Linked DNA regions of Homo sapiens: all the other regions are linked to region 5. Evidence: promoter capture Hi-C in 16 types of primary human blood cells and fetal thymus (Javierre and others, 2016). All regions are on one chromosome and are shown on one strand. The core of a region is centred on a gene start or on the middle of the fragment in contact, and the rest is flanking DNA. Distances in the headings are between cores, read along the strand shown.

Region 1 (3,226 bases), core at 677-3,176, 2.8 Mb after region 5:
CTCACGCCTGTTATCCCACCACTTTGGGAGACTGAGTAGGCGAATCACTTGAGGTCAGGAGTTCGAGACCAGCCTGGTCAACATGGTGAAACCCCATCTCTACTAAAAACACAAAAATTAGCAAGGCATGGTGGCACGTGCCTGTAATCCTAGCTACTCGGCAGGCTGAGGCAAGAGAATTGCTTGAACCCGGGAAGCGGAGGGTGCGGTGAGCTGAGATCGTGCCACTGCACTCCGGCCTGAGTGACAGAGCAAGACTCAGTCTCAAAACAACAACAACAACAACAAACAAATAAAAACATGTACATGAACGTTCATCGCAGTTTTATTTGTGATAGCCCCAAATTGGAAACAACCGGAAAGTCCTTCAATGGATCCATGGTTAAACAAATATGGTACCTGAGTACCATGAATTACCACTCAGCAATAAAAAGGAACAAACTATTGGTGTATGCAATTTGGACAGATCTCAAGGGAATTATGCAGAGTGAAAAAAGCAAATCTCAAAAGGCTTCATAATGTATGATTCCATTTATATAACATTCTCAAATGACAAAATTATAGATGGAGAACAAAGTAGTGGTTGCCAGGAGTCGGAGATAGAGTCGGGAGAGGGGCTGGAGCTGCCATGACTGTAAAGGGGCAACATGAGGGATCTCTGTGATGATGGAACAATTTTATATCTTTTTTTATTTGTTTATTATGTTTTTTAGAGACAGGATATTACTCTGTGACCTAGGCTGGAGAGCAGTGGCACAGTCAGAGCTTACTGTAGCCTCAAATTCCTGGGCTCAAGTGATCCTCTTGCCTCAGCCTTCCAGGTAGCTGGGACTACAGGCATCGCCACCATGCCTGGCTAATTTTTTTTAAAAAGTCCGTAGGGACGGGGTCTCGCTATGTTGACCAGGCTGGTCTCCAACTCCTGGGCTCAAGCAATCCTCCTGCTTCAGCCTCCCAAAGTGCCGGAATTACAGTTGTGTGCCACCATGCCTGGCTTATTTTTATATGTTGATTGTGGTGGTATTGACACAAATCTACATGTAGTACAATTGCATAGAATGACACACACATAAATCAATGCACATAAAACCCATGAAATCTGAATAATGTCTGTGGATCATACCAATATTAATTTCCTGGTTTTGATAGTGCTATAGTTACATGTTACTACTGGGGGAAACTAAGGGTATACAAGCTCTCTCTGCACTAATTTTGCAATTCCTGTGAATTTATTTCAAATTTTTAAAAATCAGATTTTGAGTCATGATAATAAAGGCTTCTTCTCTCCTTGATTACAAAAGAATTTACCCATAGTTTTCTTCTGGTGCCTTTCATTTTCTAGGCATTTTGAAATTTTTATTGGGTTAAAACAGAAAGACTCTGGGCCGGGTGTGATGGCTCACACTTGTAATCCCAGCACTTTGAGAGGCCGAGGCAGGTGGATCACGAGGTCAAGAGATTGAGACCATCCTGGCCAACATGGTGAAATCCCACCTCTACTAAAAATACAAAAATTAGCTGGGCGTGGTGGCGCGTGCCTGTAGTCCCAGCTACTCAGGAGGCTGAGGCAGGAGAATCACTTGAACCCAGGAGGCAGAGGTTGCATCGAGCCAAGATCGTGCCACTGCACTCCAGCATGGTGACAGAGCAAGACTCCATCTCAAAGCAAAATCAAAACCAAAAAACAACAATAAAAAAAACCCAGAAAGACTCTGTACATAGAACTACCTACACAACAAATTCTCTTGGAAGTTTTATATACTTCTTAAAAGCTTAACTGAAATAAACTCACGCAAACCTGGTCATTGCCCAGCGATCCCTATATCATCCTCTCCTACACAAGCCAGAAGTGGGAGTAATCCTCGACATCTCCGCTCCTTTATGCCCCAACACTCCGTAGTCAGTCTTTCATTGAGTTGTGTCAGTTTAACTTACTAACTATCTCTTGAATACATTCACTTACCACCCTTTCTTCTTCCACTATTGTGGTCGAACTTACCATCAGGTTCTGTAGGACTACTGCAAAAATGAGCTGCTTCTGTATCCTATATCCATGCCTTGGGTATATCCTGCAAGCTTTTCAAAATGCAAATCTGGTAACATCTCTCACCCACCCATCTCCTCTTCCCCCACGGAGGGCATTTAAAAGTACCCTTGATAGCTTCCCATTGAGTTTGGTTGGATAAAGACCAGATTTTGGCCAGGCACGATGGCTCACACCTGTAATCCCTGCACTTCGGGAGGTCAGGGCGGGCGGATCGCTTGAGCCCAAGAGTTCAAGACCTGGGCAACATGGTGAAACCCTGTCTCTACAGAAAAAAACAACACACAAAAAAACAAAAATCAGCAGTGTGGTGGCATGCACCTGTAGTCTCAGCTACTTGGGAGGCTGAGGTGGGAGGATCGCTTGAACCCAGGAGGCAGAGCCAAAATTGCGCCACTGCACTCCAGCCTGGGCAACAGAGCGAGACCCTGTCTAAAAAAAAAAGACCCAAATCTTAAAATGGCCTTAAAATGGACAGCACTGTATGATTTGGACCTTGTCTGTAACTATTGCTTTTGCCATCACTCCCTCCCTCAGCCCAGGTAAAAACTCTTCTACTTGGTTCTCCTCCATCCCATGATCTGTCTTTTGCTACAGGGCCTTTGCATATTTCCTCTCAGGAATGTCCTCTACCTCCAACTTGGTTAACTTCAGTTCATTCTTTGGCTTATGACTTCTTCAGAGCAGCTTTGAGTCCCAGATAAAAACTTAGGTTTCTCACATATATGACAGTACATGATCTCATAGGACTGTATTCCTTCTTTCAAAGCATTTCTACATTTCTACATTAATTAGCATCAGGATTTGCTTAATATCTGTGCCCTTCATTAAACTGTCAGTTTCATGAAAAGTATGGCTATGTCTCTTTTGGCTTAGTATTGTATCTTTATTGCTTATGACAATGCCTGGCATGCAGCAAACATGTAGAAATATACTTGTTTGATACTGAATTAAGGACCAGGGTTCTAATCCAGGTCTGTGATTTTCCAGAAGTGTTAAGTTGGGCAGATTACTTAACTTCTCTGAACTGTTTCTTCATAGGTAAAATGGGCATCTTAATCTGTGTTCCCTAGGAAGCAGGGCCTAAGACAAAGTCTTTTGTGCTTTATTAGGGAGTGCAACAGCTGGGAGCAGAAGCTAGTGGAGGGAAGCGAGGAGTGAAGGGGTCGTTGAGCTTGCTGG
Region 2 (2,876 bases), core at 368-2,867, 2.8 Mb after region 5:
ATCCCAGATCTCTAGATGTCTATCAACCTCCTTATGTCTGGCCGTTCTTCCACTGTGGATGCTGCCCTTACATTCTCTCTTGGGGCCAATCTGATTGTTATACTGTTTATTATTGAGAATTTTAGGCCTATAGCCATCCATTTGTTTGTGGGCGCATGTGTGTTTTTCTAATATCTTCTTACAAAATTAACAGTGTGTGTATTTAAGAGACAATGTCGCACTGTTTTGCCCAGGCTGCAGTGTGTTGGTGTAATTATTGCTCACTGTAGCCTTGAACTCTTGGACACAGTGGTCCTCCTGCCTTAGCTTCCTGGGTAGCTGCGACTACAGGTGTGCAGCACCACACCTAGCTAATTAATTTTTTTTGGTAGAAACAGGATCTCACTATGTTGTCCAGTCTGGTCTCAAACTCCTGGGCTCAAGCCATCGTCTTGGCTCAGCCTCCCAAAGTGCTCGGATTAACCTTGTGGTTTTATCCTAAACAGCAATAAATGAATGGTATTCTAATTCTCTGTGAAGCTAACTTGGCTAGGTTGTCTTTGCCTGAGCTTCTTAACTTGTCCACATAAATAAATCACTATAATCTGGGGTTAACTGAGTATTCCTTGGAGTTTGCAGGGTTCTGAAAGAACCTAATAAACACACAGCTTGGTGAAATGTGAGTTATGTTTCTAAACTTATGACCTCTAAAGTTATTTGTTGTTTGTATGTAAGAATAAGTGGTGGAAAGATAAGCCCCCGAAAATTCTCGATTAGTAATTTATGTTAATTGTATTTTTTCAGTATATTATTATAGAAAGACAGGAAAGGTAAAAGGCACCAAATATGACTTTGGCTGATAATATTTCTGTTTTTTACTCTGAATTCAAGGTAAATTAGCTATTTTGTTTTATTTCTTCTTCTTTTTTTAATAGGGTTACACATCATTTTGGAATGACTGTATATCATCTGGATTACGTGGCTGTATGTTAATTGAATTAGCATTGAGAGGAAGGTTACAACTAGAGGCTTGTGGAATGAGACGTAAAAGTCTATTAACAAGAAAGGTAAGAGGAGTGCTGAGTAACATTCTTTTTAAAGAGGTTGTACTGCTTAAAATGTATGTTTTTACTAGTAGCCTTCAAAAATTAAAGTGGAAGTTGATATTAAAGTTGTCTTTCTTCAATTGTATTTCCATATCTTTTTTGCATTCTTGGTTTCCTGGTTCTTTCACCTACAATGAGTAATGTAATTGATTGTTAAGGTAACCGGCCACTGGATCTTACAAATTCAGAAAGATTCTAGACTTCATTTGCAGCTTTTATTTATTTATTTATTTTTAATTTTATTTTATTATTATTATTTTTTATTGATCATTCTTGGGTGTTTCTCGCAGAGGGGGATTTGGCAGGGTCACAGGACAATAGTGGAGGGAAGGTCAGCAGATAAACAAGTGAACAAAGGTCTCTGGTTTTCCTAGGCAGAGGACCCTGCGGCCTTCCGCAGTGTTTGTGTCCCTGGGTACTTGAGATTAGGGAGTGGTGATGACTCTTAAGGAGCATGCTGCCTTCAAGCATCTGTTTAACAAAGCACATCTTGCACCGCCCTTAATCCATTCAACCCTGAGTGGATACAGCACATGTTTCAGAGAGCACAGGGTTGGGTTTAAGGTCACCGATCAACAGGATCCCAAGGCAGAAGAATTTTTCTTAGTGTAGAACAAAATGAAAAGTCTCCCATGTCTACCTCTTTCTACACAGACACGGCAACCATCCGATTTCTCAATCTTTTCCCCACCTTTCCCCACTTTCTATTCCACAAAACCGCCCTTGTCATCATGGCCCGTTCTCAGTGAGCTGTTGGGTACACCTCCCAGACGGGGTGGTGGCCGGGCAGAGGGGCTCCTCACTTCCCAGTAGGCGCGGCCGGGCAGAGGCGCCCCTCACCTCCCGGACGGGGCGGCTGGCCGGGCGGGGGGCTGACCCCCCCCACCTCCCTCCTGGACGGGGCAGCTGGCCGGACAGAGGGGCTCCTCACTTCCCAGTAGGGGCGGCCGGGCAGAGGCGCCCCTCACCTCCCGGACGGGGCGGCTGGCCAGGCGGGGGGCTGATCCCCCCACCTCCCTCCCGGACGGGGCGGCTGGCCGGGCTTGGGGGCTGACCCCCCCACCTCCCTCCCGGACGGGGCGGCTGGCCGGGCAGGGGGCTGACCCCCCCACCTCCCTCCCGGACAGGGCGGCTGGCCGGGCAGAGTGGCTCCTCACTTCCCAGTAGGGGCGGCCGGGCAGAGGCGCCCCTCACCTCCCGGACGGGGCGGCTGGCTGGGTGGGGGGCTGACCCCCCCACCTCCCTCCCGGACGAGGTGGCTGCCGGGCGGAGACGCTCCTCACTTCCCGGACGGGGTGGCTGCTGGGCGGAGGGGCTCCTCACTTCTCAGACGGGGCGGCTGCCGGGCGGAGGGGCTCCTCACTTCTCAGACGGGGCGGTTGCCAGGCAGAGGGTCTCCTCATTTCTCAGACGGGGCGTCCGGGCAGAGATGCTCCTCACATCCCGGACGGGGCGGCAGGGCAGAGGTGCTCCCCGCATCTCAGACGATGGGCGGCCGGGCAGAGACGCTCCTCACTTCCCAGATGTGATGGCGGCCGGGAAGAGGCGCTCCTCACTTCCTAGATGGGATGGCGGCCGGGCAGAGACGCTCCTCACTTTCCAGACTGGGCAGCCAGGCAGAGGGGCTCCTCACATCCCAGACGATGGGCAGCCAGGCGGAGACGCTCCTCACTTCCCAGACGGGGTGGCGGCCGGGCAGAGGCTGCAGTCTCGGCACTTTGGGAGGCCAAGGCAGGCTGCTGGGAGGTGGAGGTTGTAGCGAGCCGAGATCACGCCACTGCGCTCCAGCCT
Region 3 (3,051 bases), core at 273-2,772, 2.4 Mb after region 5:
CTCAGCCTCCCAAAGTGCTGGGATTGCAGGTGCCCAGCCACCTCGTCAGTCTTATTTACCACTTTTTGTCCAGGGCTTACAACAATACATGGCATACAGTAATTGTTCAATAAATATTTTTCTAGTTAATAAATTTTTCTCTGCTAAAAATTTGGGAAACCATTGTGCTAAGGCATTGCTTCGTAAACCCGACAAAGTCAAAACTTGCAATTTAACTTACTGTTAAATTGCCCATATAATATATTTTTTAAATATAGCTCATGAGGCCCTGCTGAATCAGACTCTTCAGGGTGGGTGTTGGCATTGCTGTTATGAATCTCCCCCGGTGATGCTGAAAGAGCTTTCTGCAGACCCTAGTTTGCAAGCCACTGCTCTGAGAGGTACTGGCTCTGCTTGGCCTCAGGGCCAGTGACATCTATGGTTACTTTCCCAGGCCTAAGAGATCTTACTCTGGCCCAGAGCCACAGTCAACAACTGTACAGTCTGGAATTTTTATCTGTATCTATTGTCATGACAGTCCACTGGCTATGGCTGGCTTCACTCTAACCATTAGACTTTTCTTTTCTTTTCTTTTCTTTTTTTCTGAGACAGAGTCTCGCTCTGCCGCAGTGGCACAATCTCATGTGACTGCAGTGGCACAATCTCCGCTCACTGCAACCTCCGCCTTCCGGGTTCAAGCAATTCTCCTGCCTCAGCCTCCCAAGTAGCTGGGATTACAGGCACCCACCACCATGCCCAGCAAATTTTTGTATTTTTAGTAGCGACAGGGTTTCACCATGCTGGCAAGACTGGTCTCGAACTCCTGACCTCAGGTGATCTGCCCACCTCGGCCTTCTAAAGTGCTGGGATTACAGGCATGAGCAACCGCGCCTGGCCACCATTAGACTTTTCAATGTGACTGCAAGCCTGAGGAGCACTACAAGCCAGTCTTTCCCTAGACCTCAACTGTAGACCTTCTTTCTTATTGTTAACTAGTAGCAATTAAAGCCATTCTGGATTGAATATCAGAAGTTCTCCATGACTGGAGAAAAGAATCTCACCACTTCTAACACCCTGTAATTCTTCCCTCTTACCCCCAACCCCCGCTCACCAAGGACTTGAGGGATAAGCTTATGCCATGCAACGGGGTTCCCCTTTCCCCTCCACCTATAGAAAGTGGCAGTAGGTCCCATAGATTCAGTTCTTCTTTCAAGGTCAAGGACAGTGTAGGAAATGGTAACATCTTCCACTCCATTCCATTACACTGGGGCCACCCACTGATGGTGGCCCTAAAGAGAAAAAAGAACTCCTGACTCAATTTTACATGCTTGCTTCGAGTCCCACTTCCCCTTTTCTCCTAGGAGGAAGAAGGACTTTATCATACTAGCAAATCTGAAGATTATCTAAAGATATTCAATTATGTATCTATAGTCAGAGTAGACCCACAGTGTGAGGAAGACCAGGCTATGGCAGCAGGGCTGCCCCTTAGGCAGAGTGGGGGTAGAAGAGTGAGGGTGGGAATAGGGGTGTTGGCTGAGGAGATGGAAGGGGAAGCAGGAAGGCAGGGTAAATCTGGATGAGCATGAGATAGAGCCCAGTCAACAAAGCACAGTACCCATGAGGGTGCAGCAATCTCCAATCCCAGTGCAAGCAAATCACTGGCCCCAGGGACTTGAGAAGCCTCAAGATGGCCTCACAGGAGTGCAAAGGAAATAAAAATAGTCTCTCTAGCACTTTGCCACCCAAGGGGTGGTCCTCCAACCAGCAGTGGCAGCATCACCCAAGCGTTTGTTAGACATGCAGAATCTCACGTCCCACCACCTAACTTAACAAGACCTCAGCATGATTTGAATGCACATTAAAGTGCTCTGAACCAGCTTGAGAACAAGCACAACTCAGTATTAAAACACAGTAGATGGTTCAGCTGAGGCTGCGTCTAGGCAACTCTCAAGCTTTGATGCACATAAGAATTGCCTGGAAAGATTCTGATTCAGGCAGAATCAGAATTTTCGGGTGCAGAATTTGGGTAGGGCACAAGAATCTATATTTTTAGCAAATGCACAGATGATTCTGATTCCAGAGGTTCCAACTGCTTTACTTCTGAACAGAGGACATGAAGTTCCCACTTACGTGTGTGCAGAATAATATTTTAAATTCTTAACTCATTGTTTCCATGTATGTGTCTCTTTTGCTCATTGCCCACTTCCAGCAGATAGGCCATTTTGTGCCCGTTGCCATTTGGAAAGGGTGTAAGAAGACTGAAGTCTAAAGAACAGAGAGACAGACAGATAGACTTCTTCCTGACTGTGGCTCCCAAAAGCCTATAGCCTTTGGTTGTACTTGTACAATGCAAACAAATGCCAGTAGATAGACAGGCTATTAAGTGTGAGTCCCAGTGGATTAGGAACTCAGAATTCAGTTGCGGTAGAAAATAAAGAAAGCAGAATATGGAGTGAAAATTGCACCAGCTACATGGGAAGGTTGGCAGGAATTTAGCTCAAGAACATTCTTTTAAAGAGTCCCCTGGTGGGGCCCCTGGTGGGGCACCTCTGGTGCAGCAGACTCTCTCGGCACTACCTCCAACGTTTCTCCAGAGAATCCTGGGCTTTTCTACCAAATGTCCAATTTTCCTTATTCTTTCTTCATGTATTTTCTCTATTCTCCTCAACATTGCCTTTAATGGCCCATCAGGAGACACCACCATGACCCTTTCAAACTAGAGAACCCAAACAACAGCGGAGAAAACAGCGATTCTTTTGATCCACTTTCTCCCGGGCCAGGGAAAACCCAGTGTTTCAAAACACGTGCTTTCCCTACCATTCCTGGAGAGAGAATGAACCATGTGAGTCTTTCCTGGGTGAGGCCAGTTTCATGCCTGACCTGCTCTCCAATCAGCAGAGAAAAGGACAATGTTTCCCTATTAAAACCAGATGAACTTTCACAGCTACTCCCCAAATATTCTTATCAATGTCGTCCTTCACTGGAAGTTAGGGTGAAATATGTATTAGCGCTTGGCAGAAATGCCAGCTAATTGCAGCTAAGATAGTGTTGCAATTTCTACCCTCCTAAATT
Region 4 (3,131 bases), core at 554-3,053, 2.6 Mb after region 5:
TTTATCACATCTCTTTAGTGGTTCATTTAAGATATGAGTAAATCAAATCAAGTAAAATCATAACTAGCATAAATAAAATCAAATTGTCTCTGAAACTAATACTCTCTTTATTTCAAAGGCAGTTGTAAAACCATGCTGTTTTGATTTCATATTTAAATGCTTTTCCTAAAATAATAGCCATCACTTTTCCCTCTCGTACCCTGTCCTTCATTTCCTATAGGCCTGGCTGGTGCACAGGCTTTCAGAGGTGGCATGCAAAACCTCAGTTGTTTTGGGAAGGGAGGGATTTCAGCCGTAAGATAGGGCTTATGTATAAGTGGGGGCAAGGGAAGCCCTGGCCACAGTGATGAAATATGTTGAAGATGACCTTCCTCTTGTGACAGATTGCCAGCTCCTGTTTCAGACAATGTTTTTTGTTTTTTGTTTTTGTTTTTGTTTTTTTGCTTTTGCTAAGAGTTTTTTTGTTTGTTTTTTATTTTTTGTTTATTTTTATTTTTATTATTATTTTTTGAGATGGAGTAGTCTCTGTCACCCAGGCTGGAGTGCTGTGGCACAATCTCTGCCTCCCAGTTTCAAGCGATTCTTGTGGTATCTCAGCCTCCTGAGTAGCTAGGGTTACAGGGGTGTGCCACCATGCCCGGTTAATTTTTGTATTTTTAGTAGAGACAGGGTTTCGCCATGTTGGCCAGACTGGTCTCAAACTCCTACCCTCAGGTGATCCACCCACCTCGGCCCCCCAAAGTGCTGGGATTACAGGCATGAGCCACTGCGCCCAGCCTTTGCTAAGAGTATTGAAGTATTTGAGAACACTTGAAGTGAATGAGTCCTGTTTTTCAAATAAAAAAATCTATGTTCCTCCAAACATAAAATTGAATCCCTTGAGATCAACTTCCCAATGTGTCCCTGTCCTTGGAAGAAGTAATGATTCTCTTTCACTCTTGGTCTCCCCGTGAATATTTGCCTCCTGTCTATGCAAACCACTGGGAATAGCACTTTCCCTAGGGGGTCAGTCAGTCTGTGGTATTGGGTATCTTGCTAGTTAAAGAAGGGAATCTGGGGTTCAGATCCCAGGGATGAGTTGTTTGGCATCAGCAAGTACCCCTGTTTTATCTCTGAGGGACTCCTGGGCTGGCCTCAGTGTTTATACTTTGTGCCTTCTCCTTTGATGCCCAAATGTATTCTCTTGGCCCCTCTTTTTTCACTCTTTACCTACCTACCTACCTGTCATCTGTCTGCAGCCCCCAGCCCCACCCCAGCTTGCCTAGTTTAGCTTCAAGTTCACTTGCCCTACAAATCTTTTTCTTTCTTTTTTTGAGATGGAGTCTTGCTCTGTTACCCAGCTGCAGTGCAGTGGCGAGATCTCGGCTCACTGCATCCTCCACCTCCCAGGCTCAAGCGATTCTCCTGCCTCAGCCTTCTGAGTAGTTGGGACTACAGGCGCATGCCACCACACCCGGCTAATTTTTGTATTTTTAGTAGAGATGGGGTTTCACCATGTTGGCCAAGCTAATCTTGAACTTCTGACCTCAGGTGATTTACCCGTCTTGGCCTCCCAGAGTGCTGGGATTAGAGGTGTGAGCCACTGTGCCTGGCCCCTACAAATCTCTTTATGCAGCTTTACGTTCTGGAGAAGAGAAGTGGCTGCTTTTTCTCTTTTTGTTTTAATGATCACTTTCTGCTACCTGCTGAATAAAGATGATCTATGCTAAAAGGGTGACAGGAAGAACCTGATGTACCTATAAGTAGTACCTGAGGAGCGCAGTAAGTATGGCAGATGTAATCTGGGTGGCAGACAGAGAGGGGGTATGGGAGCTCTGGGGTGCATGAGAGAGGCCCTCAGTGTGGTGAGGGTGTGGCTGTCTCTGTGTCTGGTCCTGTTACAGAGGAGCAACTGAGGAATAAACCAACCACAGTAGGAGTCTGGGGATGGAAACAAGGTGCCATAGCATTGTGGAAGAGACTTTGATTTTGCAAAGTTCTGATCCAGGCTCAGCCACTTGGTGGTGACCTTAGACATGTAACTTCACCTATCCGAGACTTCCTTTTCTTACCTGTAACGTGAATAGGTGTCTTCCCTGCAGGCTGATTTAGAGGATGAGAAGAAATAAACCATATAAACCCAGCTAAGGACTTGACACATGGCAGATACTCAACAACTGCTAGGTGCTGTTATTATTAATAACTTGAACTGGAAGATTTGTTATTTAAGCAACATTTTTATGTATCTACCATTTGCTAAGCACTATTAAAATTAGGAATGCAAAGAAACAGTCTGTGCACTCAGGAGCTTCACCTTCTCTTGGGGAGATGGCTGGTCACCAGAGTTCTCTGCACAGAGGTCGGAGCTGCCTACTTATGAGGGAGGCATGCCCAAGTGCTCTGGGGGCACAGAGCAAGACCCACTGCAGAACCCAAGGCAGCATCTGGTCTTATGCAAAAGCTGTGTAGGACTTGGAAAGGTCGACATTAAAGCGGGATTTGGTGTGGGGAGGAGGGGGATAATGTAGCAAGCAGGCAAGAGGGGTGTGAAAGGCTCATAGCTGTGTTAGGACTGGGTGACATCTTTCCCCATCTCTTATGTAAGGTGTGTGCACACATGTGTGATGGTGAGAGAGAAGTCTTGAGGAATAGAATCCAAGGGTCGCTGCTCGGACCTGCAGGAGTATCTCCAAGATTCTATGAGGATTCCTTCTTTCTGTGACATGCTGCTGTACCATAGATCAGTCTGGCCCTTAGTGAGCCTGTGGGCACCTCTCATCTGTCCCTGGTTCCTCTTGCCTTCTTCCTGCTCCAAGCCTTTTAACTTCTCCCAGCTCTTCCCCTAACTTAATGTTTATAGAGCAGTTTTGGAGGCGGTGGTAGAAGGGGAGGCACAGATGGCAATGCCATGTGTCTCTGCAGCTGCTGTCAGTCACATCCGTTAGCTTAAATCATAAAGCAGTGACAGCCCCATAACTGCCACCTGACACCTTTTTTCTGGCACTTGTACATATCCCAGCACAACAATCTTTACTTTCAGTATAATGTGGTAGTTAAGAGCATGGCTTTGGTGTCACACAGGGCTTCCTACTTGCTAATGGTGAATTTGGGCTGGGTGTTTAACTTCTCTGAGCCTCAGTTTTCTGATCTGT
Region 5 (3,016 bases), core at 115-2,614:
ATATATTAGTTGTTCCATTAATCTAACCACCAATTATGTATGTTGCGATTTTTTTCTGGCAGTTGTATTTAACTTTTCATTTGTGTAAGGCAGAAAGTTGTTTTCCTAACAAGACTCTAAGACCCCTGTCTCAGCATTTCCAAATCTACTTAGTAGAGTGCAGTGACTTGCATATATTGGATACTCTGTAACCGTGTTTACTGATGAATGCTAATATGAAAGCCTCTTCATATGAACCTCAAAAAGCTGAAAGTCAACTACTCTCTTAGTTTCCCAGCCTGGAAGATCAGATTACTTCATAAAAGTCACACAGGCCTGGATTACAGACCAATGAAACATCCAAAGGAAGGATACTTCTAAGTAAACATACAAACTTTACTGGGGAAGCCGCCTGATTAAAACCTTCCCCGGCAGAATCATGTCCAAAGTGAAGTACAAGGTCTGCTTAAACAGCTTATTAAAAGAAAAAAAAAACAGCGAAAAAAGCGCATCCCTATTGAAAAGATATTTTACTAGCTCCCGTGTCTTAACTTCTTAACTAAGAAACGAAAAGAGCCATACATCAGGTTGAAGTATCTGGGATTCCCGGACGAGGTGGAGGGCAGCGGAGGAAAAACACCGAGAGGCTGCGCTGCAAGGGACGCAGGGAAAAGCAAGCCTGGGGCAGGTCTGAGTTCCGAGTTCCCGACTGCTCCCTCGTGGTGTCTGCGACCCGGTAGCGGGAGCAAGTGAGGTTGTTGGACTGCAGTTTTCCCCCTACAGTGGCGATGCGGGGCCGGGGTCGCGGGTATGAGGAGATGGGGTGTGAGCCGGGGTGCGCCAGGGCAGAGCGCTTCGCCCACCGAGACGGGCAGGGCGGCTCCGGGCACTGGCCGGGCGGGGCAAGGAGCTCCTAGGCCGCCAGGTCCCTCTCTGCTGGCTCCGCGGAGTCCGCCCGGGGGAAGGGAAGGTCGGGGAGGGCCGGGCTTCTCCGAGTGGCCGCGGGGGCTGCGGGACAGGTACTTACCCGGGTGCCATTTCAGGGCCAGCTTCCGATAGGCCTTCTTGAGCTCCTCCTCGCTGGCGTCGCGCCGCACCCCCAGCGCCTCATAGTGACACTTCATCGCCCGACCGGGCGGGCGGCCGGCGCTGGGGCCCGGGACGGGGTCGGGGCCCGGGCCCGGGCCGAAGCGGCGGCGGCGGCGGCGCTGGCAGTCCTCTCCGGCGGGAGTCCGCCGCCCGCACCGGGCCAGCCAGCGAGCCCGGCGGCGGCGGCGGCGGCGGCGGTGGTGTAGGTCAGTGAAGGCGCGCGGTGGCGGCAGACGACGCAGGCTGCGGCAAGCGGGAGCGCGGCGGGGGCGGTGCCGGCGGCCGCCGCTTCGCATGGGCTAGGGGTGGGCTCTGTGCCGGAAAGGGCCGCGCGGGAGGGGGTGGGGCCTCGGCGGGGTGAGAGGCGAGGCCCCGAGGAAGGAAGGCGGGGCCTTGGCGAGGAGAGAGGCGGGCCGCGCAGGAGAAAGGCGGGAGCTTGGCGGGGAAAGAGGCGGGCCGCGTGGGAGGAAGGTAGGCCTTGGCCGGGAAGAACAGGAGGAAGGCGGGACCTTGGTGTGAGAGGCGGGGCCTCGGCGGGGCGAGAGGCGGGGCCGCGCGGAAGGGAGGCAGGGCCACGCTGGTGTCATTGTGAGGGGCACAGATGGCGGTCAGTGTGAGTGGCAGCCGACCTGAGGGCTGAAGGGGGAGATAGGAGCTGGGATGGGAGAGGATTCTGGAAAATATCTGATTATAATTTCTCAATGGATCCCCGTTTTTATAGATAAGGCGATTCAGACTCCAAGTGGTCAAGTGGTTGGCTCAAGCCTCCTCAGCTAATACAGTAGCAGAATTCGGTTGGACTGAATATCAGGTTTTTTTTTTAATCTCTTTAATTCTCTTCAGCTGCCACTTAAGATATCTGGTATTGATCATCTTGACCAATATGCTTGAGAAAGGACAGTTAGATTATTTAAGCGGAAACAATTTAAAAGGGAAGCATCAACACACTTAATGAAAAGCCTTACCACCAACATGGATGAAATTGTGCTGATCTATCCATCCAACACACTTTAATCCTAACTTTCTGGCCTCTAATCCTACCTTTCCAAGATTGGTTTAGGTTAAGAAAGCAGTTAAAGGATAGTATTTAACTGGTAGGTTTTGGTTGATCTGACTATCTGCACAATTATTCCAAACACTTTGAAAGGTATCAAAATAATACCATAATTATTAAAATGCATTAATACACCAATATATTTCACTGTAATGTGGAATGTTTACATGCATCAGTTAGGTGTGGGTTGTATTTACTAACCATGTATGGTTAGCTATGTTGCTAATATCTATTGCACAGGGTTGGCGTACCCAAGCGGTTTAGTAAGGTTATCCTTCTCTTCCCCAATATGCTGCCCCCAGTAAAATAAAAAACCCACGCTAAGCTTCATCAGGTTACTTCACACGCCACTGACCAACCAACTCACTACTCAGAATTCATACACTTCCCTTTTTTCCAGAGGAAGATTCTACACAGTCTCAGTTAGTTGGTAAATTGGTAATGGATAAGGATTGAGAAGTCTGAGTTTGGGGGAGAATGAAACCTTTCCCCTCCTGAGAACAGAATTGGGATGGTGGGCGGGGGGAAGGGAGGGACAAAAAAAAAAAAAAAAACGGAAAGGGAAAGTATTTTTTTCCCTCCAACTTAATTTGGAGTATTTTCTCCCTCCAACTTGATTTGGTTTTGGATACAGCCTGTAGGAATCACTTACTTCTTTTACCTTCTGAAGTAAGAAGGATTTTTGCCTGTAACATTGTATAATTAAAGGTAACTATGCTGGATATAAATTTCAGTCTAAAGGAACATCTTGACCAGGCGTGGTGGCTCATGCCTGTAATCCCAGCACTTTGGGAAGCCGAGGCAGGAGGATCCCTTCAGCCCAAGAGTTCAAGACGAGCCTGGGCAACATAGCGAGAACTTGTCTCTACAAAAAAAAAAAAAAGCCAGGCATGG
Region 6 (2,982 bases), core at 216-2,715, 2.5 Mb after region 5:
ATAATCTCACAGTAAAATGTTTTAAAACATTTGGAGTCCTCATTACTAATAGAGAAAGAAGGAAAGTTTCTATTTACAGGTAACATGATTGTTATGCTTGTCAGGCAAGAATATGAGAAGTAATAAGAGTACAGCAAGTTTTCTGGATCTATGATCAGGCAAAGGCCGGGAGCGGTGGCTCATGCCTGTAATCCCTGCACTTTGGGAGGCCGAGGTGGGCAGATCACTTGAGGTTGGGAATTCGAGACCAGCCTGACCAACATGGAGAAACCCCGTCTCTACTAAAACTACAAAATTAGCCAGGCGTGGTGGTGCATGCCTGTAATCCCAGCTACTCGGGAGGCTGAGGCAGGAGAATAGCTTGAATCCAGGAGGTGGAGGTTGCGGTGAGCCAAGATCGCGCCATTGCACTCCAGCCTGGGCGACAAGAGTGAAACTCCGTCTCAAAAAAAAAAAAAAAAAAAAAAAAAAATTTTCAGATAAAATCAGTAGCATTCTTGTTTCATCAATATTGAATTAGATTATTAAATTTCAAATAAGTCCTGTTTATGTATAGCCACCAAATCTATTAAGTAAGCAGGAATAAAACAAATGAAGTATTCAAAACACTTTGAAGAGAAAATACAATAGGATAAAAAAGTCATAAAAGATGACAAAGATGGACTGTGTTCATGAGTGAAAAACCAATGCCATCAAATTATTATCTCCTATATATATTTAGCATTACTCCAATAAAAATCTCATAGGATTTTTGGTATAACTTGATAAAGGGATTTTAATGTATATAGTGAGGAGAGTGTTCAGCTAAAAATATCATGAAAGTCTTGCAGAAATGATAAGGAAGGACTTGTAATATCAGATACCAAAATATTATTAATAGAAAAATGTGGTATTGGTACAGGGATAGACAGATTATTGAGTTAAAATAGAGATCCCAGAGATAGACATGCTTATATAAGCAGTTGGATTAGAGTATATATCTAATATATGTCTGTTTAAATAGATGTATTTGTTAAAAAAAAAATCAGCTACATTTTTACTCAGAGACATAGATCATCAGGTTAATCAGAAGACCATTCAGGCTTATAAATGTTGTAATTGATGAAGTATGTTAGTATTATTTGGATGGATCTTTAGTCTACTTATTAAAGGTTGCTTGACTATTAATTGTCCATGACACCACTCTGTCAGAATACAGGATTAGAGTGATTGTTCTGAGTATATCATTTCTTAGTATTTCATGAAAGCCATGTACAGTACAGCTTTTATTCATACAGAGATAAAATGAATGAAATAAACTTTGGGTTTTTTTTTGTTTTATTTGAATATTAGTCTTGTATACACTTTATATTAAAGTGCATTTGTAGGGAATAATTCACTTATTTAATATTTTATGAGCATCTACAATATGCATAGTCCCTGCTTTCAGGGAGTTTACACTTCTGGGGCATGAGGGTGGAGACAGATGAGTCTACAAATAACTATGCCATTATAATTAAGTTTTAATGAAATACTAAAATGGGAAATTGGAGGATTTTGACTATGGAGTTTGAGGTAGACTTCGTGTTCTTTCATTCTGAAAATCAAGGGAAGGTCATTTTAGACAAAGGAAAAGTATTGAGCCAAGACAAATATCTGGATTGCATGATATAATAGAGACTGGGTTGGCTCTGAAGTCAGACTACCTAAGCTGAATCTGGCTCCTCCTATTACCTGCCATGTGACCTTGGGCAAACAGTCTGTTGTTAGTTTTTTTATCTATAAATTGAAGATAATATTTTCTTTGCCTCATAGGAAAACTGCACATGTAAGAGAAAATGAAATGTCATAAACCGAGTGTACCTGTGTAACTTGCACTTAAATTAAAAACAAAAACAGAACATTATCAGTATCCCAGGAGGTTTTTACATTCTCCATTGTGTTGTTTCGAGGATTCACTATTATTTGTAAGGTGGACCTGGCAGTGACTCACACCTGTAACCCTAGCACTTTGGTAGGCCTAGGCTGGAGGATTTTAATCCCAGGATTTTGAGACTAGCGTGAACAGCAAAGTGAGACTCTGTATTATTAATAAAATGAAGAAAAGAAAACATTATTTGTGAAGTGTTCAGAACAGTATCTGGCATATATTATATCTCTATCAATGTTAGCCATTATTCAGTAGGTGGCTGGTGAATATGGATGAAACTAGAGAAAGTACAGTGCCTGGCATATATCAAGCATTCAGTAGACATGTTTTAAATTATTTATAGAAAAATAAAGAATACAACTATGGGGCCAGGCACGGTGGCTCACGCCTGTATTACCAGCACTTTGGGAGGCTGAGGCGGGCAGATCACAAGGTCAGGAGATCGAGACCATCCTGGCTAACACGGTGAAACCACGTGTCTACTAAAAATAAAAAAAAAAATCAGCCGGGCGTGGTGGTGGGCGCCTGTAGTCCCAGCTACTCGGGAGGCCGAGGCAGGAGAATGGTGTGAACCCAGGAGGCGGAGCTTGCAGTGAGCCGAGATCGCGCCACTGCACTCCAGCCTGGGCGACAGAGCGAGACTCCATCTCAAAAAAAAAAAAAAAAAAAAAAAAAAGAATACAACTGTGGTTACCAACTTTAAGGTAGGACCAGGGAAAGAAAGAAATACTGTGTGAACAGAGAGCCAGGAGAATTTAGGGTCATGAAAACCAAAAGATGATAGCAAGGTCGTCAGCTTTAGAGTTGCTGGATTAGGGATTTAGTACAGTTATCAAGTTACTGGTGTAATTTTAATGAGTAGCCTTTATAAGGAAACTAGAATCTGATCACTTGGAGCTACAGAAAAAAATAGCATAAAATTTTGCTTAAAATAAGTTTGTAGTCTAGTGTTCACATAGATACTTAAGAGCTCCAGAGGTCACATGGGCTTAAAGTATTGGGAAGCACTGTGGTTGAAATCAATCAAATGAAAATAAATTTTTTGAATTCATATTTCTGGGAAAAGCTATAGT
Region 7 (3,177 bases), core at 459-2,958, 2.4 Mb before region 5:
CGCCTCCCCATAGGATAAATACATACAGCCTACTTCACCGGCCCTGCTGACACTGACGTCCTACATGGACTGTGCAGATATGCCACAGTGACTACCTCGGTCACAGCATGACTTCCAAGAACGGGGTGTCCAATCTTTTGGCTTCCCTAGGCCACAATGGAAGAAGAAGAATTGTCTTGGGCAACACATTAAATACACTAACAACAGCTGAGAACTTTAAAAAAATCACAAATCTCACAATGTTTTAAGAAAGTTAACGAATTTGTGTTGGGCCACATTCAAAGCCATTCTGGGCTGACAAGCTTGTCCTCAAATTTGTGCATGCTTGCTTTAAACCCACCAATTAAAGTGTGGGAATTCCTCTTGGGAAATCTATTTGGAAAACACCATGAACCCAATAAATGCATTGGCTCATGAGTCCCTCTTTGTCTTTCCCTGACTGCATTCCTTGACCTCCAGGTGCGCCAGATGCCCCGCCAGGCATGTAAGTAATAAAATCTTTGTTTATATCTGTGTTTCTACTAATCATTGAAGAAGCATGCTCTATCTTAAAATTCCTAAATTAAAACAGTCCCTTAAAATAAATCAAGGCAGTAGGATTCAAAATGTTGTAGTAGTCACTGTATTTTTCAGTTACATAGGCGTTGTAAGCAAAATCAGTTTCCCTTAGGAATATCCTTAATAAAGCCATAAACAGTATTCATTTCGTTAAACCCTGACCCTTAATTATACGTCTTTTTAACCTTCAGTATGACAAAATGAGAAGTAATCATAAAGTATGTTTTTAAAAAAATTTCTTACAGATGGGGTCTCACTGTGTTACCCAGACTGGAGTGCAGTGGCTATTTACAAGTTCAGTCATGAAGCACTTTAGCCTCAAACTCCTGGACTCAAGCGATCTTCCCCTGCCTCAGCTTCCTGAGTAGATGGGACCACAGGCATACGCCACCATGCCCAGCTAATGCATATCTAAGTAGAATGGTCATCGAAAAGAAAACCACTTGTAATTGAGTGGTTAGCTTTTTTCATGGAACATTATTTTTACCTGAAAGAATGACTCACAAAGTACAGTTGTTCATATTTAAGTATTTGGCAAACATTTTTTCAAAAATAAATGAAATGAGTTTATCACTTTAAGAAAAACAGGTCAGGCATGGTGGCTTACACGGGTAATCCCAGCACTTTGGAAGCCGAGGTGGGAGGATCACCCAAGGCCAGGAGTTCGAGACCAGCCTGGCCAACATGGTGAAACCCCGTCTCTACTAAAAATACAGAAAATTAGCCAGGCGTAGCTGGGTGCGGTGGCTCACGTCTGTAATCCCAGCGCTTTGGGAGGCCAAGGCGGGTGGATCACCTGAGGTCAGGAGTTCAAGACCAGCCTGACCAACATAGTAAAACCCCCGTCTCTACTAAAAATACAAAAAAATGAGCTGGGCATGGTGGTATGTGCCTGTAATCCCAGCTACTCGGAAGGCTGAGGCAGAATTGCTTGAACCTGAGAGGCAGAGGTTGCAGTGAACAGAGATCATGCCACTGCACTCCAACCTGGGCAACAAGAGCAAAACTCCATCTCAAAAAAAAAAAATAAAGAAAAGAAAATTAGCCTGTAATTCCAGCTACTCAGGAGGCTGAAGCAGGAGGATTGCTTGAACCTGGGAGGCAGAGGTTGCAATGAGCTGAGATCGCACCATTGCACCCCAGCCTAGGCGACAAGAGCAAAACTCTGTTTAAAAAAAAAAAAAAACTGACTGCACTTGTTGACAATTATTAAAATACTTCTTCTTTTTCTAAATATGTAACTGAGGCCAGTTTTTCCTTCTTTCTTTCTTTCTTTTTTTTTGAGACAGAGTTTCGCTCTTGTAGCCCAGGCTGGAGTGCAATGGCACGATCTCAGCTCACTGCAACCTCCGCCTCCCAGGTTCGGGCAATTCCCCTGGCTTAGCCTCCCAAGTAGCCGGGATTACAGGCTTGCGCCACCATGCCCCACTGATTTTTGTATTTTTAGTAGAAACGGGGTTTCACCATGTTGGCCAGGCTAGTCTCGAACCTCTGACCTCAGGCAATCCACCCGCCTCGGCCTCCCAAAGTGCTGGGATTACAGGTGTGAGCCAGCGCGCCTGGTGAGGCCAGCTTTTCTTAATATTAATATATTATACTTCAACTAAATAAGTCACAAAATGTTGACATGTTAGACAAAGTAGCAAACATAAAAAACCAAGTTTGCTCATTCTGCTTGCCAGCAGAATTTCACAAAGCCCAACTCAGTGACTAAGTATAGACTTCTAGAAGAATGCCCTGGAAACAATAAGCAGGTTAGAGCACAGGTTCCCACGTCTCTTGCTTCAATCAATGCATTTTTTAAAAAAAGGTAAGTTCAGTGTTCCTACCCCTTGCCTCTTCCAGTACATAAGATAGTGTCCCATAGGATTCATGATTATGCCTCTGTAATCTATAACCAGATGTACTCTTACACCCAAACTTTGATGAGATTTTGCTCTAATGTAATTTATGAGCTTTTTTTTTTTTTTTTTTTTTTTTTTTTAGAGACAGAGTCTCCCTTTATCAACCAGACTAGAATGCAGTGGCATGGTCATGGCTCACTGCAACCTGGAACTCCTGGGCTAAAGTGATGCTCCTGCCTCAGCCCACCAAGTAGCTGGGACTACAGGTCCACACCTGGCTGCCCAGGTTGGTTTTGAATGCCTGGCCTCAAGAGACCCTCATGCATAGGCCTCTCAAAGTGCTAGAATTACAGGTGTGAGTCACTATACCCAGTTTATGAGCATGTTTAATGTAATTTCTGAGCACATGCAGAGCTTCCAACCCCTGACATGTAAGCTGTGGGCTAAAAGCTACTTTGGAGCAGTCTTAACAGAAACTCTCTGAAAGGTTGCAATCCTGAGTCTGAATCAAACTGACTTTAATTCTTTAAAAGAGGGTTATTTTTCTTCAATTGACAGCAGATACAGATATGAGAATCCAGCCATCCGTTACTGAGCCAGACACTAAAGAGATTTGCAAAAATATGAAATAATCGCATTCTTCTCCCTGTTTTAGAAACTATAGTGATTTCTCATTTTAAAAAAGTGTTATATTAACATGGATTAAGCTTGGTATGCTTTTTTTTTTTTTTTTTGAAACGGAGTCTTACTCTGTTGCCCAGGGTGGAGTGCAGTG

The links. The method cuts DNA at HindIII sites, captures the fragments that hold promoters and counts their contacts. A CHiCAGO score of 5 or more calls a contact.
Region 1: a contact is called between a fragment that was not itself captured here and the fragment with the promoter of DNAJC21 in region 5, in 1 of 17 cell types (total CD8 T cells). The highest score is 5.6, in total CD8 T cells.
Region 2: a contact is called between a fragment that was not itself captured here and the fragment with the promoter of DNAJC21 in region 5, in 1 of 17 cell types (neutrophils). The highest score is 5.6, in neutrophils.
Region 3: a fragment that was not itself captured here is called in contact with the fragment with the promoter of DNAJC21 in region 5 in 1 of 17 cell types (neutrophils); the score reaches 5.9 in neutrophils.
Region 4: a fragment that was not itself captured here is called in contact with the fragment with the promoter of DNAJC21 in region 5 in 3 of 17 cell types (neutrophils, naive B cells and activated CD4 T cells); the score reaches 8.4 in neutrophils.
Region 6: a contact is called between a fragment that was not itself captured here and the fragment with the promoter of DNAJC21 in region 5, in 2 of 17 cell types (total CD8 T cells and total CD4 T cells). The highest score is 5.2, in total CD8 T cells.
Region 7: a contact is called between a fragment that was not itself captured here and the fragment with the promoter of DNAJC21 in region 5, in 11 of 17 cell types (naive CD4 T cells, activated CD4 T cells, total CD4 T cells and 8 more). The highest score is 15.5, in naive CD4 T cells.

What each region holds. Positions count from the first base shown.
Region 1 is chr5:32,177,746-32,180,971 of GRCh38, reverse strand. No RefSeq gene overlaps it. Among named protein-coding and RNA genes, the nearest start is that of GOLPH3, 5.0 kb to the right of the region's middle. The HindIII fragment of the contact is 304 bases long and covers 1,775-2,078 here.
Region 2 is chr5:32,141,919-32,144,794 of GRCh38, reverse strand. It overlaps GOLPH3 (golgi phosphoprotein 3), which reads left to right. Exons shown (of 4, transcript NM_022130.4): 2 at 915-1,046. Among named protein-coding and RNA genes, the nearest start is that of GOLPH3, 31 kb to the left of the region's middle. The HindIII fragment of the contact is 6,855 bases long and covers 1-2,876 here.
Region 3 is chr5:32,538,845-32,541,895 of GRCh38, reverse strand. All of the region lies in intron 4 of LOC124900954 (a long non-coding RNA gene), which reads right to left. Among named protein-coding and RNA genes, the nearest start is that of SUB1, 45 kb to the left of the region's middle. The HindIII fragment of the contact is 822 bases long and covers 1,112-1,933 here.
Region 4 is chr5:32,299,256-32,302,386 of GRCh38, reverse strand. The region is part of intron 1 of MTMR12 (myotubularin related protein 12); the gene reads left to right. Among named protein-coding and RNA genes, the nearest start is that of MTMR12, 12 kb to the left of the region's middle. The HindIII fragment of the contact is 5,364 bases long and covers 1-3,131 here.
Region 5 is chr5:34,927,907-34,930,922 of GRCh38, reverse strand. It overlaps DNAJC21 (DnaJ heat shock protein family (Hsp40) member C21), which reads right to left and starts at 1,364. Exons shown (of 12, transcript NM_001012339.3): 1 at 1,007-1,364. The coding sequence starts at 1,103. LOC124900961 (a long non-coding RNA gene) reads left to right here and starts at 1,242. Exons shown (of 2, transcript XR_007058731.1): 1 at 1,242-1,274; 2 at 1,790-3,016. RefSeq lists enhancers at 599-768, 235-880 and silencers at 909-1,108, 1,139-1,208, 1,219-1,688. The HindIII fragment of the contact is 5,598 bases long and covers 1-2,449 here.
Region 6 is chr5:32,435,744-32,438,725 of GRCh38, reverse strand. All of the region lies in intron 2 of ZFR (zinc finger RNA binding protein), which reads left to right. Among named protein-coding and RNA genes, the nearest start is that of ZFR, 7.5 kb to the left of the region's middle. The HindIII fragment of the contact is 3,794 bases long and covers 1-2,982 here.
Region 7 is chr5:37,373,067-37,376,243 of GRCh38, reverse strand. No RefSeq gene overlaps it. Among named protein-coding and RNA genes, the nearest start is that of NUP155, 3.5 kb to the right of the region's middle. The HindIII fragment of the contact is 2,807 bases long and covers 305-3,111 here.